2 separate regions of the Homo sapiens genome follow, and region 1 is linked to region 2. The links are contacts of gene promoters, found by promoter capture Hi-C in human tissues and cell types (Jung and others, 2019). All regions are on one chromosome and are shown on one strand. Each heading gives the region's core, a stretch centred on a gene start or on the middle of the fragment in contact. The rest is flanking DNA. Distances are from core to core; before and after follow the strand shown.

The links. The method cuts DNA at HindIII sites, captures the fragments that hold promoters and counts their contacts. A contact is called where the count stands out against the background at its distance.
Region 1: a fragment that was not itself captured here is called in contact with the fragment with the promoter of SLC40A1 in region 2 in 2 of the 25 tissues and cell types used here (aorta and thymus).

The regions. Positions count from the first base shown.
Region 1 is chr2:189,047,253-189,050,533 of GRCh38, reverse strand. It overlaps COL5A2 (collagen type V alpha 2 chain), which reads left to right. Exons shown (of 54, transcript NM_000393.5): 44 at 1,080-1,187; 45 at 2,272-2,325. Among named protein-coding and RNA genes, the nearest start is that of MIR3606, 53 kb to the right of the region's middle. The HindIII fragment of the contact is 9,231 bases long and covers 1-3,281 here.
Region 2 is chr2:189,579,508-189,582,522 of GRCh38, reverse strand. It overlaps SLC40A1 (solute carrier family 40 member 1), which reads left to right and starts at 1,737. Exons shown (of 8, transcript NM_014585.6): 1 at 1,737-2,105; 2 at 2,643-2,710. The coding sequence starts at 2,063. RefSeq lists silencers at 1,484-1,653, 1,724-1,783. The HindIII fragment of the contact is 17,191 bases long and covers 1-3,015 here.

The sequences.
Region 1 (3,281 bases), core at 192-2,691, 530 kb after region 2:
TGTGCAATACAAATTGTTTAGAGAATTGATTTTATTTTTTTTGCTTGATGAATAGATTTAAACAGTATTGTAGGGACATTAATTTTTGAGTCTCTTAAAAATCTTTTGATCTTAAATGTCAAATTCTTAACTACCTTACAAAGTCTTTGAAAATATATATTTGTTTAACCCTGAGACTAGAAAAGTAGGCAAATAAGGATATGGATTTTTGGTGACCTTTAAATCCTTCTTCAAAGATTAAAAAGATCCCGGAGCTAGAGGAGGGGGATAATCTTCTGGTGAATAGGTAGTGTCTTTTTAAGTAAACATGCTTAACAAAAATACCATATTTTACAGTAAACCATCAAAGGGAAGACATAGTTGAGCTAAAGTAATATTTGAGGTGAATGTAGGGGGAATGCTGAAGAAGGATCTGAAGGTAATCTCCTGTTCCCTGGAGGGTGCTTTAGGATTTTATATTCCCTGGAGTATGGATAAAAGTTTGATTCAAAGTTAGCTTTGAAGAGACTAAATTTTATTGCTAAAAGATTACAGTGCTTGAAAAAAATTAATGATGTTTTCATATGGAATGTAGACAGAGAGATGTATGGGATCTTAGAACTGGGAGACATGTGGGTTGAAATATGAAACCAACAAAGTAGGAGCTAAGGGATGTCTTATTGTTATCAGAAGTGAGCCAAGAATGTGAAAGTAAAATCTCTCAAGAGTGAGATCAAAGTATCAGAATATAGAAATAAAATGAACAGACAAAGCAGAGCGGGGAAAAAGGATGAAAGTGATGCAAATTCCAGAAGGGCAGCTAGAATCACCTATGGTACACATGATTAGAACCCAAAATGCACACCTGTGCTGGTGGCAACAGATGGTTGGTTTTTGGTCCCTTAGATACGTCAAGAGGAGTCTGATAGGAGGTGGGCAGGCCTCTAAGAAAGCATTATGATTACATGAGTGTTGTAAGATAATGCAAAATTATTATTATAGAAGGAGCCCAGAGGCACCATTTTGAAAACTTAGCCTTTATGGGAACTAGCGTTCTTCAATTTCTTCACAAGTGTTTGACATTTATACTTCTATTTCAGGGAACACCAGGAAAAGTAGGACCAACTGGTGCAACAGGAGATAAAGGTCCACCTGGACCTGTGGGGCCCCCAGGCTCCAATGGTCCTGTAGGGGAACCTGGACCAGAAGTGAGTACTACAGTGAAAATAACTCTTCTCTTGTTATCTGGTGTCATGGAAACAATTTTTTTCATTTAGCAATTGATTTAGAATTTTATTGCATATTTGACCTTAAGAAAGTTTCTTAGTAATGTTATTTGATGTACTCTACTTCCCTAGAGAGTTGGCTAAGTGATGACATAAAGAAAAGGTAATAGGATCGGTGTCTTTGCACTGACCTTCATCTAGTCTGGAGCTAAGTATTTTAGTTCATTTAAGCTGTTGCCAAACTGTTTTGAGGGTGAAAGGACACATCCATTCATCTTTCCCTTGTTATTATTTCATTTTGTAATGACATATTTATCAAAATTGCCAAGTTTTTTGGTGATAGGATTAATATAGCTATTCCAGCTTGTGAAAAGGGCAAAGTTAGTAGAGATCATTTTACTTAAATATCACTATAAAGTAACATAATGGATATCATGTTCCTTTAGGCACTTTTGGGAGGAAATCAGTTTTTGATAGGCAATTTGAGAAGTTAAAGGCTGGAATATCCTCTGTTCAGGATTTTAAGGAGTGAATCATCAAACAGTTAATGTAACATTTTATTGAAAGAAAGAATCAATAGCCTTTGGAACAATTTTTGATCAAATAGCAAAGACATATTTATGAAAAAAATCACAATAAAATAGAAAAGGAAGACTATTTCTTAAAGTAGTTTAATATTGAAACAGTTATTTTATTTCAAAACTTTAAGGATATTTGAATAATCTTAAGAAGTAAATGTAAGAAAAGCCTTTCATTGTTAATACAAGCAAAACATAAAGTGGCAAGAATGTAATTGTTATCTATTTCAAAATATTTGTGGGTTTTTTGTTTTTCAAAATAAGAAATATAAATGAAGAATATGGATTAAGTAAGAATATGTTAATTTTACAGTAATTCAAAATAATGAAAAAGAGGTAGAAACCGTTCTTCTGCTGACATTTGCATAAATGCTAACTGACAGTTTATAAAACACAGGTGTAAAACATGCTGTCATTTTTTGACAATTGGAATGAGGATTTTTTTCATTACTCAGTTAAGTAGTTTTTCAAACCATTATTCTTTATAGGGTCCAGCTGGCAATGATGGTACCCCAGGACGGGATGGTGCTGTTGGAGAACGTGTAAGAGCCATTTCACTTATTATAAAATCTAAAGTCATGCAAATCTGAAATCTTTTTAATTTACACTAAAAACTGTCATTTTTCCTGATAGTTCCAATACACTTCTGATTTTTCTGAATAACAACTGTTTCTGTAAAGCCATAATTTTTATATCTTGTAAATGAAATGATATTTGAATATGCAACAAATTAAGATGGTATTTTTTCAGAGCAGGAAGATAAAATTGAAGCCATCTTTGGTTTAACATAAAGGCTTTGGATGAGGATATATATGAAGTGTTCTAAATTTTAAACTCATTAACAAAAGCATGAAAGCCAAAATAGTGCTGTGTAATGTCTAAATTTTTCCATTCACCATCTAAAGTGAATGCCGTATGAGAATATAAGCCATGTGGCTTTTTAAACACTGTATATTCCATGATGTGTTTTAAATTAGAATGTGCTGAACTGAACATGTCCCCAACTTTCTCTGAAGCCCCAGTCCCTTCTGGCAGTTGCACAGTCATCTCATGCTGCTGAGATGGGCCACTGAAGGCAAAATCACTCCCCACTCCAAAGTCTGTTATGATGTAATTAAAGCTCATCATGTAGCAGAATGGGCTTTGGAGCCAGTCAGACTTGATTTGGAATATTGTTTCCCTAAGTAATTAGCTGTGTAATCTTAAGCAGATTTTCTGAACCTCCATTTTCAAATGCTTTAAATATAATTAATACATATGCCATTGGGCATTTGTATATTAAATGACATGTTTAAACACTCCACTACAGGATAGACACTCAACCTCATATTGAAAAAAAAGGGGAAGAAAGGATTTGGAGGAAGCTTGGGCTAAGTCCCGCTCATCTACTATAATCCACAGACTGCAAATTCTCTTGGCAACTTGGGCTTTTTCCTTTGTCAATATATACTATATAGTGCAACCATCTTCAAAGGTTTTGCTGAAGTAATTATGAAAA
Region 2 (3,015 bases), core at 488-2,987:
CACCTGGAAGTTGGGGACAGCATGACACCCCTTCTTATAATATGTAATAATTAATGTAAAGCACTTGGAGGTCCTTGTTGCTGAGACACACTCTGACAAATGTGCAAACTATCACTATCCTTTGTGCCTTGTTGAGGACCTGTCAAAAAATTCATCTCTAATAAGGGATCGCCATAAAGTGGAGGGGTTTATTTACCAGTTCACTCCTTCACTTTAGTTCACTCATCTGAGTATACTTTGGTTTATTCTCAAGGATGCATGTATAAATGACCCTATTCTCCACGGTTAGCAAACCAAAACCTCTCTAAATTGGGAGAAAGAACTTGAATGTCGTGTGAAAGAAAGGAAAAAAGAGGGCTTGAAAAGGCAAAAAGCAGTGAAAAGCAGTAGTTAAACTGTAACCCCTATCTCTACTCACCAGACCACATCCCAACCGAATCCAGCTGCACCCACCCCGTAGACCTTTGGGGCTCCTGATTGAGAGTGCAGATACAGGGCACATACTCATGCGTGGCTCCCTTCACTACTGGGTGTCAGTCTGGCCTGTGCTCAAGGTGTGGCATCTGGTTGGAGTTTCAATATGTAGGATCCACTACCAGGGTTTTCGTGAGATTAAGAAGGGTAAGGTAACCTACTGGCAAAAGGGGCTGGTATGCCCCAGGGGTTGGTTTGGCACAGCAGGATTAAAACGAAGTCAACCAAGGCTAGAGTCTGGTGTTCTTTAGTCATTCACCTCACCCTCCAGGAGGCCACCGAATGGCTTTATCTGGACAGGGACAGATCCAGGGACACAACTGGGATAACCGGTATTCCTGGTAAGCCTGTCACTGGGGCATTTGGAGGTTAGGTGGGGAAGGGACGCGCGCGTGGGGGCGGGGTGAGAGGGTACAGAGGGAGAAGGAATGATGGTGAAGGGTTTGCTGGGGCTGCAGCATCCTCATTCTGTCTCCAGGACGGATTTGGAGGCCCCAGTTTGGGGATACGGGTAGGTCTGTAACTCGCTGCGGGACTTCACCTTTGCAAGCCTCCGTTTGCTCCTCTCAAGAGGGATGGACTCTGATCTTTGCGCCCCCTTCCTGCCCTTTGATTCTGGTTCTTTGAGGGAAGCCCTGCTATGCAGTCCGGGGAAGGAAAGGCATTCTCTGCTGCAGGCGGGCCGGAATGGGACGGCCAGGAAAGCGGCCTCTGTGGCATGAATTATATTTATTTAGATACCTGTATTAAAAATTATTTTCGTTAAAAAAGGAATCCCCACCCACCAAGCTCGCGCTGGAGCTTTGCACTGCGACCGTCCGGCGGCCGCCCTTTCCCTGAACTGCGGGGTAGCCGGTGCGCAGCGCTTTCTTCCAGCACCTGACGCTTAGTTTCGCGCAGAATCTCCCTACGCCGCCCCGCCGGCTCCACGCGCCTTCCTCCTTTTCCCAGCCCCACGGCCGCCCCCCGAGGTTGCCCTCGCGGCTTCCCGGAGAGCAGGAAAACCCGGGGAGTGGAACGCGTCGAGGCGAAGGTCCCCGCAAGCCGCGCAGGGTGTCTGCGGCCGGTTGGACGCTTGCGCCCGGGGTGGGCGACTCCTCCGGGCAAGGGCGCGGGGACGGCCCGGCGCGCAAGGTTGACGGGAGCTCGTCTCGCGCCGCGGGGACGCCCGGGCGGCCCTGAAGGGGACGGGGCGGCCCCAGTCGGAGGTCGCAGGGAGCTCCGCCCCCGACTCGGTATAAGAGCTGGGCCCGGCCCACGGCGGCGGCGGCGGCGGCGGAGAGAGCTGGCTCAGGGCGTCCGCTAGGCTCGGACGACCTGCTGAGCCTCCCAAACCGCTTCCATAAGGCTTTGCCTTTCCAACTTCAGCTACAGTGTTAGCTAAGTTTGGAAAGAAGGAAAAAAGAAAATCCCTGGGCCCCTTTTCTTTTGTTCTTTGCCAAAGTCGTCGTTGTAGTCTTTTTGCCCAAGGCTGTTGTGTTTTTAGAGGTGCTATCTCCAGTTCCTTGCACTCCTGTTAACAAGCACCTCAGCGAGAGCAGCAGCAGCGATAGCAGCCGCAGAAGAGCCAGCGGGGTCGCCTAGTGTCATGACCAGGGCGGGAGATCACAACCGCCAGAGAGGATGCTGTGGTGAGTGTCGTTGACCGAAAGCATATGGTGGAAACCCAGGTGGGGCTTTGGAGACAAGCAACTCTACACGAGTTCTGGAGGAATGTGGCTCTGCTGTGAACCATAGCTTTGTAAAAAGATCCTTTGACTCATATTTGGTGGACGTTAAGGAAGAAAGGAAATTCAGGGTGTGGGAAAAGGGGTTTGCACACAGGCACGGATGGAGTAGATTGGGCAGTTTGGATTGCCTTGTGTAAAAAAGAAACAAAACAAACAAACCAACCAACCCAAAAAAGAATGCTGAAACAAGAGTTTCTTCACTGTATGTGAAATGTGAAGTTGGGCAGTTATTGACTAGGTCAATAACTGAATTTAGTGAATGGTATTAAGTGAACGAAATACATCGGTTCATAGGTAACTTGATAAAATGTACGTGGTTTGTCCTGCAAAGTAGTTTTTAATAATCATGTTCTAATGAGATCAAATGGATAAGCATTCTGCCCTCAGCTCATTAAGTGACTACCATCGCTTTTTGTCACCCCGCCTGTGTCTTTGCAGGATCCTTGGCCGACTACCTGACCTCTGCAAAATTCCTTCTCTACCTTGGTCATTCTCTCTCTACTTGGGTAAGTGAGAATGCATAGTCTTACAACACAGTTGCGCAATTTTTTATTTCCTTTCGTTCTAGCCAGTTGTATTAAGCCAACTTCCAGTTTTGTCAAGCAGTTAAAGAAATAAATCATCCAAGTACACATGCTTTAATGAAAACGTTATTTACATCGAAGATCTTTCCCCATGAGTGTTAGTTAATGCAACTTAATTATCAGATCATCGTAGTTTATGTAGATAGACAACTATCCAGACAAGATTATCAAGGAAAGGAATATTTGCCTTGTTTTTAAATTTTATGTTGCATTAGTAGCTTTGGTAA